Regions from separate parts of the Homo sapiens genome. Here all the other regions are linked to region 1. The links are contacts of gene promoters, found by promoter capture Hi-C in blood cells and fetal thymus (Javierre and others, 2016). All regions are on one chromosome and are shown on one strand. The core of a region is centred on a gene start or on the middle of the fragment in contact, and the rest is flanking DNA. Distances in the headings are between cores, read along the strand shown.

Region 1 (3,458 bases), core at 75-2,574:
ACCATCGTGGCTCCCTGAAACCTGGACCTCCTGAGCTCAAGCAATTCTGCGTCAGCCTCCCGAGTAGTTGGGACTACAGGTGCATGCCACCACACCAGGCTAATTTATTTTTATTTTTGTAGTGACAGGGTTTCGCTATGTTGCTCAGGCTGGTCTTGAACTCCTGAGCTCAAGTAATCCTCCCACCTCAGCCTCCCAACGTGCTTGGATTATAGGCATGAGCCATTCCACCCAGCCAGAACATCTTTATTGAAGTATAATTTACACAGCATAAAATTCATCCATGTTAAGTGTACAGTCCCACGAGTTTTAGTTACACAGCTGTCACCATCCCTACAATCTGGGTTTAGGATCCTTCCCTCACCCCAAGACGTTCCTCCCACTCCTTGGCAGTCAATCTCATTTCCCACTCCCAGCCCTAGGCCACCACGGATCTGTTTTAGGTCTCTGTGATTTTGCCTATTCTGGGCACTTCATGTAGCTGGAATCCTCCAGTGTGTGACTTTTGTGCCTAGATTTTTTCAATTGGCATAAGAGCTTTGAGATTCATTTATGTTGTGCATGTATCAGTAGTCTGTTCCCTTTAATTGTTGCATTGCGTCCCATTGAAGACTTGTGCCACAGTACGTCCCAGTTTATGGGCATTCCTAATTGTTGACTAATATTTATAAGATCTCTACAAACATTGGTGTCTTCACATTTTAGTCTTTGAGTGTCGAGCCTTTGTTTCTCTTGAGAAGCTACCGAGGAGTGGAGTTGCTGGGTTGTATGGTTAGTGTATGTCTAACTTTTCAAGAAACTGCCACACCATCTTTCGCTTTACATTCACGCCAACAATCTATGAGGGTCAGAGGACTTTTTATTAAACATGTACTAATATCAATTCTCATATTTATTTTCTTCTTTGGAGCTAACACGTAAACATATCTATAATTTTTTTTCAGATTTCACCCATTTCTGCAGGGAGAAAAGCTCATAAGCCACGGCCCTACGCCCACCTTTGTGCCCGCAGAATAAGGAAACCCGCCAACTACACACCACAGTTAGAAAGCCCAAGACCCTGAAAAGACCTGCACCCACCCCCAAAGGGGCGGGGCTGGTGGGCGGAGAGGAGGCGGGGCGCGCTCCTTCAGCCCCGCCCACCAGCCCTGGACTCCGGCTCCCGAGGAGCGGAGCTAGCGGGTGAGCCAAGGGGATGTGCACAGGCCTCCTCAGTCCCGCCCAGCGCGCGCGCGCGGCGGCGAAGCCGGCGGGCGGGGCCGGGGAGGGCCCTCGCCGGGTCAGCTCCGCCCACCCTCCCCGGCCTCCGCCCGCCTCCCGGGTCAGCGGCGCGGGTGCTGCGCCTAGCTGCGCACCATGGCCGGGTTGCTGGCGTTGCTGGGTCCGGCAGGCAGGGTGGGCGCCCGGGTCCGGCCTCGCGCCACCTGGCTCCTGGGCGCCACCGCCCCCTGCGCCCCGCCGCCCCTGGCCCTGGCCCTGCTCCCGCCCAGGCTAGACGCCCGGCTGCTCCGCACGGCGCGCGGGGACTGCCGCGGCCACCAGGTAAGCACCCCACCCCGACCCTGATCCCGGGCGGTGTCCAGGTCCCCAGACGTCCGCAGGGCCGCGCCGGGGTCCGGCCGCCTCCGCCAAGGACGCCTTTGCACTTGTAGCTGCCCGGGACCGAGCTCTTCCAGGGTCCCCGAAACCCCAAATCCCTGCAAGCCAAGGAAGCGATCCTCCTAGTTGACAGCCAGAGAAACTGAGGCTCGGGAAGGTGTGGCGCTCTGCCCAAGGTCGCGCAGTCTTCGGCCGAGCCCCGGGTCTGCAGAGCCTCAGCCAGGCTGGGGCGCAGCCGACTGACTTGGTCTGAACTTCCACACGTTGCCTGCGGAGTTGTTGTCCAGGCCTTCTGGCTGGGTCTCGCTGTGTTTTGAACACCTCCCGACGCTCGCTGCTCCTCCCTTTTCTTCTGAGTGGAAGAGCAGGCGTCCTCAGGGAAGCCGCGGGCAAGAAACCCACAGTGCTGTTTGTTATGTTTCATTTCCGTCACTTTCCATTGGTGCTAAGTGAAAACTGGTTTTCCTTCAGAGCAGTCATACCAGCTTTCCTTTCAAGAAATCTATCACTTTCTTCCAAGTGAGTCTTTTTAAATAAAAATAGTAGTAAATGAAGTCTGGCGGTCCAGGAATGGCAAGCCCAGACACGCGGAGCCGGCGTCCAGCCCGGAGCGCATCCGGCCTGGCAGTCTGGAGCCTCTTTGTTTGCCTGGGTGCAGACAGGGCCCCTCCATTCATCGCCCGGTGACCTCAGACCGAGTCCTGAAGGCTTTTGAGCTTGTTTTCTGACCTTTAGAGGGCCAAAAATAGCACCTTCCCAGCAAGAGTTTGGGAGACAACTCCATGAGCTGGTGCAGGCCTCAGCGGAGTGCCGCCGGCCCAGCGAACATCTCCTGACCGTTTCCTAGCTTTTCAGTAAGGAGCGGATGGGGATTGGACCCAGGCTTTCATCATGCCTCCTGCCCAGATCAACTTCCTTCCTTGCCTTCTCCAGTCCGACAGGTGGCACACAGGTCTTGGGGATCCTCTCCAGAGTGGCACCTTCTGCACACACCGTGCCGCCTCCTGATGATTCTTCAGGGCCCAGCCCAGCTGTTCCTTCCTCCGGGAAGCCCTCTCTAACGACCTGTGAGGTCTCGGATGCCTCCACTGGGCCTGCTTCCACCCCATGGCTGTGGGTCTTCTCTGCACTCATCTGGAATGGCCTCTTGTCCTGCCTGTCAGCCACATTGACCTTGTCCCCAGCTCAGGCCCTGGCACTGGAGCGGTGTGTGTGTATACAGTGGCAAAGAGTTGGCCTCAGACTCCCTGGATTCCTCTCTCTACTCACTTGTTGTTGACTTTGATCAAATTCCCTTCTCTCTATCTCAGGCCCCTCATCTGTAAAATGGGACGTTAATAATTCAGACTTCATAGAATATGAATGTAAAATGAGATATGTTCATACCTGGCATCTGGTGTGTCCTAAATTAAGGTTAGAAATGACTATAATTGCAGTAAATATATACAGTCACAAGGCCCCAGGGCCCCGTGAGCTGTCCTTGTTTCTTCTGCACCGTGGTAAAATCGGCAGAAACCCAAGTGGGATCAGAACCTCAAAGGAGATTAGGACAAAAGATAACTCATCTGCCTGAGAAAACGCGTCCCCAGCAGGGCCTGGGAGCAGTGCAGGGAGGGTCTGGGCTTGGCCAGAGCCCAGAACCTCCCCTGTCGTCTGTTCTGGCCGCCCACCCTCGTCGGGAGGTAGGAGTGTGCTGCCCAGCTGGGCTCTCCAAATTTGCCAGGTGTTTAATTAAGAGCCAAAGAGGCCCACCCACGCTGCCTTGGCAGGGGGTCTCTGTAAGAGGGGTAGGGAAAGCCACAGAAGAGACCTGCCTTTTTGTCTTAACATGATTCCATGTCCTGTAAACCGCCTAGCAG
Region 2 (3,409 bases), core at 364-2,863, 2.0 Mb before region 1:
TTGGCCTGCTCCTTCCTTCCTTCTTTCTTCCATACTCCCTTGAAATTTTGCCCCACAGGACGTCATGGATATTTCCAAAAGGAGGGTGCTTCCTAAGTGCTTGCCTCTGAGTGGCATTTGAGGTAGAACTTATGACATAATTCTTCTTGGTCCAATGTAAATATTAACATACTTCCCTACCCTACATGTCTAATTATGGTTAGCCTATGATTTTGTTGGAATCAGACTATGGACTTATCTTTGTTTACTTTTAGTATTTGTTTTTATCCTGTTCATTATTATACTTCTCTGAAGTTCCAGATCTGAAACTGTTTAAATTATGGGTCTTTGGTGGCAAGCAAGAGAAAGTGTATCTTGCTCTCTTAAGCAGAAAAATAATTCATTCAAGGGAAATAAGGGACCTAAAAGGATCCAAGTGAAAGCCATAGACTGAGGTTTGGAAAAACACAAGGAGCAAAGAAAGCTCACGGGGAGAGGGGGAGTTACAGCCAGAACTGAGGGGCTGTTACTTTAGGATGTCAGCGATGAAGTTAATCAGCCTATGATCTTTTTTGTTTCTGTGTCATTTCCTTCAAGATTCCACACTCAAAGGAAACAGCGTTCAATAAGCTTATCTTGGGTCATGGCCAGATCCCTTAACCAGGGAAAGGAAGGACACTGTTATTTCTACCATATTCTATCCAGCAGGGAAAGTACGCTCATTGCAGAGCTGACTCAGTGTACTTTTACCAGAAAAAGGAAAATCCTAACTAGCAAAGATTACACAAGATTCCTCTTAGATAATATTTGGTTTGCTTATTCCACACTGTAAATTTTCTGACCAGTGGTAGTGTTCTCTAGGAAGCGCTTCATATATTGCAATCTCCCCAAGAACAGGGCTGGATTTATCATTTTCTTGAGTGACATATAAGACAATAAGTGATTAATAGATGCCTAGAGTTATAATTCAAAATAGGTTTCATTATGTTTTGCCCTGATAACTTTCTTTATACTTATTGTGTGGTTTTCTTCTCTAGGTTGCTATAAATTTGGTCTCCTTGTTCAAGGTAGTTGTCACTGTGTTGACCAGGCCTTGCTTCTTAACTCAGGTAATTGAAAAATCTATCCAACATCCTCATCAGCAGAAAAAAAATGTAGACTGAGAGAGTATCTTCCTTTTGTCTGTGTGATTACAGACTTAAGGAAAATTTGCGTTAATTAATCTCTTTATAATGCACATTATAAAACAAATTTCCTAAAGTGTGGAATTATTTAAGTTACATAGAGTTATGACTCAGGCATTGGATTTTATTAACACCAATGGCATATTACATTGATTTGGTGTATAGTCATGAAGTTACTATTTATTTTTACCTAATTAAAATGTTAAAGTGGAGGGGTCTGGATTTTAATCATATTCCTCAAAAGCTACTTTGATACTGGATAAAATGTCAGCTCTCGAAATCCACAAACCTCATTATCCTCATTGTAAAAATCAGATATTCCAGATGTTAAATATATATCAGATGAGAAAGGATGTGGGTAAACCTGGTGTCAGAGAAAATGTGGTAAGCATTCCCTTTCATTCCTGCCTCCTCATTTAATGCCTATGCCAGGCAGAAGAAAAAGCAGCAATACAGAAAAAACACATTATTTAAACTGAGGTCTGAGTTCAAATGTGGATTTTACCATATCCTAGCTGAATGCAAGCAAATTACTAAAATTCTCAGAACTTTAGTTTTTTCATCTATAAAACATGGCTAAAAATGTCTATTTCTTACTGTTATCATTAGGATCAAACGAAATACTTGATATATCCATAGTGAGTACTCAATAAATGGAATCTATTATAATTTGACAACTAACATATTTATATGAGTCTTACTCATTTCTATGCATGAAAGAAAATACACGTTTGAGACAGATTAATAATTACTTGTTTGATTAATCTGTCTAGATCTATTTTTTCAAATGAATATGAAAGTTGTGATTGATAACTGGAGCAAATCATATAATCCATCATTTCCTAAAACATTTCTAGGGCACACCCATGCTGTCAGATGTAACAAAATGGGTTATCAGAAAAACATTTGCGTTCATACGGGATTAGACAAATCTTGATTGACCAATGTCAAACTACTGTCTTGACTGCAGGACTTTTCAGAGCCTTTAACATACAAGCATACATTGTGACTTTCCAGAAGCAAATAGAGTAAGCAGAATTTTTTAACTTATTTGACCAATGAGTACATTATCGTGGGGGTAGGGTTATTCAGACAACATTATGAAGAAGTGATGACATCGCTGTTTTTCACAATCTACTTGCAAAATGGCACAAGAAATGATCACAGCAGACAATCAAACTTGCCCAGAGCAGCCATTGTGAATTTAATCTAATTGCTCTTGAAAGCTGGATTTGTTTCTCTGAATTGAGTTGCAGCCTTTGAGGAAGAAACAAATTGCCTCCCCACTGCTCACACTTCTGCTCCATCTGTAAATGTTAGGAAATAGCATAAAAAGAAATTCAAATTCCTGTAGCAGTAAATATGCAAACACACATTTTCTGCAGATATAGCGAGGGCATCATTTTCCCCCTTTTACCACCCCAGAGTCCCTGAACAGGTTTGAATCTGTTGACAAAGCTTTTTAAAACCATCTAGCTGACCTTTATTTTTTATTTTTATTTTTATTTTTATTTTTATTTTTATTTGTTTTGTATGCTAGCAATCTGTTAACCACATTTCCAGGGAACTTGCATAGAGAGCTCCTTCTCTCTCTCTCTCTCTCTCTCTGTCTCTCTCTCTCCCGCTTTCTATCCTACTCCCTTCCTCCTTCCCTGCCTTCTTCGCTCTCCTTTCTCTCTCTTCCTTTTTTTCTATTTCTTATTCGTTGGCAGTCTTGCCACTGGATGTGCAAATTAAAACTCATTTAATCATCTGCATGCCAAGCACAAGGACTCAGTCAATCACGTTCTATGCCATTGGCTAGGTAATTACTTGAAATTTGCTATCTATTGTTTCATCCTTTGTTCCCAGCCTACTATTGACGTCAGAGGAGTTTTGCCTGTGAAAGAATGAGGTCTTATTTTTGTGTGTGTGTATAAAATATTCTAGTTTGCTCCAGACTTCTGTGCCCAAGTGGGTCTCTGGCAAAGAATGTTCTGTACATCCATCAACATTTAGAAGTGCAGTGATGGTTGCATGCAAAGTGGAAGTTGGAAATTGAGCAGAAAGAAAAAACCTTGTGGAGCGTAGTCAAACCGGTTACTCAAAGCTTGTGTTTTAAGATTTTCTTCAGCCTCTTGCACACTCATACCAAACGATAATATCCACATTTGCAGATTGAGAAACCAACATCGAACTACTATCTTAATTGCAGGACTTTTCAGAGCCTTTAAAGAGAGATATAGTTATGTCTTTGTCCTTATGGG
Region 3 (3,327 bases), core at 356-2,855, 2.3 Mb after region 1:
AACCTGGCCATTTTTTAAGATCTGTATGAAATAGGATGGCAGCTTGAAAATTGATACATATGCTGGATCTTCAACAATAAGAAGACATGTTTTTAAATGGAAAGTGAGGTTTCTGAAATTAAAAGGGTGCTTATGTTGCACATAAAATTTGTTTATGTCCATATTTGTTCCCATTTCAAATAGTTGACGCTTATCTTCAACAATTGTTTTCCCTTCCCAAAACATACTGTCTTGTTTTTTAATAGTACATACTGTGATACACATTACAAATCCATACTGCTAAAAGAAATGACACATTTCTTCTCAATAGGGTGGTGTTTCTTTATTATAATGAACTATAGCTATAGACTGTATCATAAAAGAGACAAATTATTCGCTATTTAAAGTTTTCATTCCCAAAGAATCAGCTGTTCTATCTTACTGGCAAAACTCTGATACAATGTGTGGGAAAGCTAGTACCAGCTGAGCAGGCTGGCATCCATGCTGTTCATGTAGGAATCTCTAATTAGCAAGCTTCCTTAGGACCCTTAACAAAGAGTGTGTTCTCCCCACTTTTGATTTACATCTAATTTGAGGGGAACACATGCATAAAATCAAGTACTGCTTCAAAGAGTTGTATTCACTTCAACCGACTTTTCATATGTGGTTTATAATTTGTTGTTTTGGATAAAATGATACTAATCCCAATGCAGGTAAATTTAGATAGATACCATCTCTCTGTCTTCTTTAGTTTAATGTGTATTTGTAAACAGTAAAAACAGTACAAAATAAGATCATGAGCTTAAAAACTCTAAAATCACTATAAATAATTACTGATTGAAATGTGTAATAATAAAATATAGTGGATTCGATAATAAACTGGTGTAGTGGAAATTCTAGGACCCATGAAGAGGTCCTTTAGCAATTTTAGATTTTACTTTGTATAAACAGCTGGAGTTCAAGTTCTGTTCCAGTCCAGCAATACTGTAGACAGCACCTGATGTATGGCTGGCAGGTGCTGCGAGCTGGGCCTGTGGTTTGTCCCCCTGCTTTTTAGTCAGTGTGTCCTCCACAGAGTTGTGTACCTCTTGGTGACTTTGGAGCAGGAGTGTTGAGGAATAAACAAGTCTGCCTCTGAGTGCTTGGCACAGGCCCTCTCTGTGCCTGCTCTGTAGAGGGTGAGGTCTGCGCCTCTCTGTCCACGGATGGTCAGTAAGAGAGGATGATCTTTACTGACACTAACGTCACTCACTGGCGGCCTGTCCTATAGTGCCTGGTGTAGTTGGTGGGAAATGAATCAAACTACTGTGTTTTGTTGTTTTAATCTGATGGCTTGTCTTGATTCATTTTCTTAGCAAATTGCAGTTATAGTTTATGGGCCTGTGGAGTGATTGGCACCTTTGAGGGTGGAAGGGGTTTCTGGAGTCAGCCGACCCAGGTTTCAGTCTGTCACATAATGGCTCTGTGACCTTGGGCAAGCGACTTAACTTTTCTGAGTTTCAATTTCCATATTTATAGGTTAGAATAATAGTTTCTAACTCACCTAGTTTTTATGAGGATTAAAATAATGTCAAGAATGTAAAATTCCTATTGATGAACTCTTGAAACCAAACAGAAGGTAGTGGTGGTGGAGAATTACCACTTCACGGCCCGGGAGCCCCAGACAGTGCGGGTTTGGATGACACACCATTTGTTTAAGAAATGACACTGGCCCTGCAGCATCCGTGCCACGCTTGAGCACCGTTGGGCTTAATCACGGCTCCTGGACGTGCTGGGATTAGTGAATGGGGCCTAGTCCTTCCAGCGTGGTCATTGCCTAAGATGCGTTCCCTGAGTGGACACGTGCCCCAGAGCACACAGAAAGCCTGAAGCAGATGGTGGCAGAACCACTCCAGGGCATGCAGGGAGGTTGATGGTGAAGATACCAATTTGCTTTTAAGAATTTTACTGTGAACTCTTTAGGATTTAGGGCCTATTACTTGAAGTGGTCTTTTATTCTAAGTTTTTCTTTATATGATATTTTTCCCCCTTCATCTGTGGATTTTAAAATTTTGTCTTGTTCCTTTATTATTAGAAAAGCAAATAAGTATTTAATGAATGAAAAAATAAATTTAGTTAAATGCAAGGAAGAGGGAAGAAAAGCAATATGAATTTTTCACCCAACTCTACAGTGTGATTTAGAAAATTTCCAAAGTATTATCTATAAAGGGCTTTTATAGATTATTTTCCATTATATTTTGATCATCATTTGGATCTTTTGAAACTGGCATTTAAAAATTCTGAGCTCTGGAGGGCACCTCAAAATCTTTTCAACCCATTCACTGCCTGCAGGCAAGAAAACAGCTTAACCGTGCCAAACCCATGATTTCCCTCTGTTTTTTGTGTGTGTGTGTGTTTTTTTTTTTTTTTTTTTTTTGAGACAGAGTTTCGCTCTTGTTGCCCTGGCTGGAGTGCAATGGTACGATCATGGCTCACTGCGACCTTCGCCTCTTGGGTTCAAGGGATTCTCCTGCCTCAGCCTCCCGAGTAGCTGGGATTACAGGCATAAGCCACCATGCCCAGTTAATTTTTGTATTTTTAGTAGAGAACGGTTTTCACCATTTTGGCCAGGCTACTCTCGAACTCCTGACCTCAGATGATCTGCCCGCCTTGGCCTCCCAAAGTTCTGGGATTACAGGCGTGAGCCACCGCGCCCAGCCGATTTCCCTCCCATTCTTAAAAGCTTTCTACCGCAGTGTGTTATATAGTTAAAATAAACAGGAACCATCGATACCATTTCAAAATAAGGGGAAATGTTCCCTGTGGACATTTAACTGAAGAAAAGAAATGACAGTGTAAGATTGCATTGAGATCTTAAGGATTGCTTTTGCCAAATGGTAGATAATTTGCTAGCGGTTTTAGGCAGTTGTTTCACACATCTTAACACATGGTTAATGATTGTGTGACTGAGATAACTGGATCAGCCCTATTTCCAAAATAAGCTAAGTGTATTTAAGTAAACCTTGCTACTATTGAGCATTTTGTAGTTGTTTCATTTACTGCCTAGTTTTTTTTTTCACTTGCAACTGATCACAAGAATCATTGAGGTTCATGCCGTTCTATCACAGTACTAGTAGTAAGAGGTCTTTATTTTAAGGATCTTTTGTTGACTTTTTCATTACATTTCTATAGCCAGATCAAGTCAAATTTACGTTCTGAAGTATGTCCAAGGAAATTAAGAGCTGGTGCATGAAAAGATAGGAAAACAATCCAAATCCTAGCAGTTATCAAAAGCAAGTTTATAATACAGGCAAGTGCATTCACTCCTTTCTATATATTTTCAGGGAGCAACATTTAAGAGAGAGTAAA
Region 4 (3,106 bases), core at 585-3,084, 2.2 Mb before region 1:
TACAGCTGAATAGAACTAAAGAGACCTTTAGTTTTCAAGTTAAAACATTTTTTTTTAAAGTAAATAAAATAAGAACTGCAGTGAAGAAATGACTGGTCCATAGCCATGGCACATATGAAAATTCCAAATGTGTATGAGGTAAAGCTAGGGCTTTGCATGAGTGAGATAGACCAGGTGGGAGGTTCTACGGAATGGTGGAAACAGGCAAACAAGCCAAGGGTCTGGCCCGTCCAAGGGGGCTTTGTTACTCAGCTGTAGCCAGCTGTGCTAAGCAGAAAGTGGGCCCACCATAGACAGATCTAACTTTTTTTTTTTTTTTTTGGGATGGAGTCTCACTCTGATGCCCATGCTGGAGTACACTGGTGTGATCTTGGCTCACTGCACTCTCCATCTACCAGGTTCAAACAATTCTTCTGCCTCAGCCTCCCAAGTAGCTGAGAATACAGGTGCGCACCACCACGCCCAGCTAATTTTTGTATTTTTAGTAGAGACGGGGTTTCACCATGTTGGCCAGGCTGGTCTCAAACTCCGGACCTTAGGTGATCCACCCACCTGGGCCTCCCTAAGTGCTGGGATTACAGGCATGAGCCACTGCGCCCGACTGGCAACAGGTCTAACTTTTGAAGGCAAGAGAAAAATATCAACTTTGAGAATGCACTCCCTCAATTTTTAAAAGTTGTCAACAAATTCAAAAGTTTAAAACACATCATGCAAGCCAAAAAAGCCCATGTGAGGTCCACATTTGGCTGGGAACCTGCCAGTCTGTGACTTGCATTAAAGAATCTTCCAGCATCCCACACATTTTCTGACAAGGTAGTTCTCACCTCACTTCCTGTCAATGTTTACCTAAGTAAGGAATGCTTAGTGTGATCATTTTCTTAACTCTTTATCCTGAAGAAGGACCTTCAGTAAAGACAATATTTTAATATTTTACTTCGGTTTCCTATATTTTACTTTGGTTGCCTCCATTATTCACCAATTTGTGCTTGTTCAGCCAGAAATTCAGGAACCACAGGAAAGCTGTTGACTAAAGAAAACCTTAAACTTTCATCCCAGTTCTGTTCACTGTTTTTTATTAAAGAGTTTTCTTTTTATAGTAAACTAAAGAGAGGATGTTCAGAGTCCAGGTTCATGAGCTGCAGGGCTTTTTTTTTTTTTTTTTTTTTTTTTGCTCAGCAGAACCCCAAAAATAGAATTGCAAAAATACAATTTGGTAAATCTTTAATGCCCAAATACTACTCCTTCCCCTAACTAAGTCAGCCACTGGAACCATTTCTGCCTCTGCACATGACACTGACCAGGAGGCTAAGCCCATTATTTATGCACGGCTGATTTTATTTCTCAATTCATTTTGAGCATCTTTAATGCAAAACAACAAGAAAAACAGCAGCAAAACACCCAGCCTGATTATAAGCCTTTTCTCCTGACTTTTAATGCAAACTTGAAGAATGAGCCAGAGATGACTCATAAACTCATGAACTTCAGTTTCTGGTGAAGACCATCATTTAAGACAAAGTCAGTTCCCCAGACTGTGGGTTTCCCTATTTAGTGAACAAACATGTTTACTTTAAAATGCTAATCAAAAAAGTCCTTGAACAGACATTGTCTTCCCCAAAATTACTAAAATAGTTACCATGTTTCAAATTATTTAGAATAGGAAACTAAATTATAATAAAATAATTGAGGATAGAAATCTAACTGATTTTTCACCTATTAAAATTTGGGTCACAAATTATACACACACATATACACACACACGCACCTACACACACATGCATACACATCTCCAAAACACAAGATAGTAAGCACGGGAAAATTTGCCAAATGTCCTAGTGGATTGATCAACAAACAGCCCAGGTAATTCTGCATTTCTTCTTGGTCGAAGTCACTTTTTCTTCCCAACTTCTCACTCAGACTAGGTACAACTAAAATGTAGATAAGTAAGTCACTTTATCTGTGTTTTATTTAAGCAGTACGGTGGTTAGGTGCATGAATGCTACAGCCAGCATGCCTGGTTCGGATTCCTGGTTATGCCACTGTTATTGGTAGCTTAATGTGGAGTTGGTAAGACGGGGATGTGGAAATAGCAGTGTCAATTCGTAACTTGCTTAGGAGGATTAAATGAATGTATAGAACATTGCCTGGCCCTGTGTACAAATTCAAGACTTTGAGCTCAGTTAGTCTGGAGAGCTAGCAGATTCTTAACCTTTGAATCCCCAGCTAAAAACCCTGTCCTGACGAACGTTCATGCACATTTTGACGGCCTTTCAGAGATGCTCAGGCCTTCTCTGCCTCCCTTACTCCCCAGGCTAAGGTCCTCTACTCTAGAAAACACCTAAAGGAACCTGGGGATGTGAGTTACATATGAAAACCACTTTAGTCCTCCTAAGGACACCATACATATTTTCTGAGCCATGGCAAAATCAATAGGTAAACAGGTATTGTTAGAGGGAACTAGGCCTGGTTCCTTTTTCAATGGGGTTTGAAAGTTGTATTTTGTTTATTAGGAAGGAAAGAAGTGGACCTTTCCAGTGGGTGATTCATCATCTGGTTCCTTCAGGGGAAGAGAGGGAGTGACTAGAGAGGATTGATGTCCAGCCTGGGGCCTGCTTTGCTCAACAGGGACCTCATGAAGGCAGGCTTCTTCCTCCTGACATTTCCAGCACTCCTCACGGGCACTCTGGAGAGGGATCTCTGAATCATCGCTGTGTCTAGACACATCAAAGGGCAAGCTGCCTGTTTCTCAGGCTCACCAAACCCAGTCAGGAGCACTAACGTGGCAGGTCTCCCTCTGAATCACTCAGACCAGAGGGAGGGCGCTGAGAGGTGAGCAGGTTCACCCGGCTGTATTCGCTCTTGGGCGAGGGCAACATTCCTCCCTGGGGAATGCAAAGTCATGTTGCCTCTTGCCAAAGCCAGTCAGGTAAGGAGACACTGTTGATTTTGTCTCTGCTTCCTGGTGCCAGAGCAGACCAAGCAGGGCTTTGAAGATGTTGATTAGACGTAAGCCTTGACGAGGAATGTGACTGTCATTCAACAGTGTAGGCACTCAGTAAATACCCGGGGCATGAATTCAAGGGAACGCTACCTTGCAAAATGGGCCACT

Evidence for each region. Contacts are between HindIII fragments. The CHiCAGO score rates a contact against its expected background, and 5 or more counts as called.
Region 2: a fragment that was not itself captured here is called in contact with the fragment with the promoter of FAM210B in region 1 in 1 of 17 cell types (endothelial precursors); the score reaches 6.5 in endothelial precursors.
Region 3: a fragment that was not itself captured here is called in contact with the fragment with the promoter of FAM210B in region 1 in 1 of 17 cell types (total CD8 T cells); the score reaches 6.1 in total CD8 T cells.
Region 4: a contact is called between a fragment that was not itself captured here and the fragment with the promoter of FAM210B in region 1, in 1 of 17 cell types (M0 macrophages). The highest score is 5.4, in M0 macrophages.

What each region holds. Positions count from the first base shown.
Region 1 is chr20:56,357,650-56,361,107 of GRCh38, forward strand. It overlaps FAM210B (family with sequence similarity 210 member B), which reads left to right and starts at 1,325. Exons shown (of 3, transcript NM_080821.3): 1 at 1,325-1,542. The coding sequence starts at 1,357. RefSeq lists a silencer at 1,002-1,601. The HindIII fragment of the contact is 7,749 bases long and covers 1-3,458 here.
Region 2 is chr20:54,340,285-54,343,693 of GRCh38, forward strand. No RefSeq gene overlaps it. Among named protein-coding and RNA genes, the nearest start is that of DOK5, 130 kb to the right of the region's middle. The HindIII fragment of the contact is 2,012 bases long and covers 608-2,619 here.
Region 3 is chr20:58,664,051-58,667,377 of GRCh38, forward strand. The region is part of intron 2 of STX16 (syntaxin 16); the gene reads left to right. The region is part of intron 2 of STX16-NPEPL1 (STX16-NPEPL1 readthrough (NMD candidate)); the gene reads left to right. Among named protein-coding and RNA genes, the nearest start is that of STX16, 14 kb to the left of the region's middle. The HindIII fragment of the contact is 2,188 bases long and covers 512-2,699 here.
Region 4 is chr20:54,120,995-54,124,100 of GRCh38, forward strand. No RefSeq gene overlaps it. Among named protein-coding and RNA genes, the nearest start is that of CYP24A1, 51 kb to the right of the region's middle. RefSeq lists an enhancer at 2,560-3,106. The HindIII fragment of the contact is 9,202 bases long and covers 1-3,106 here.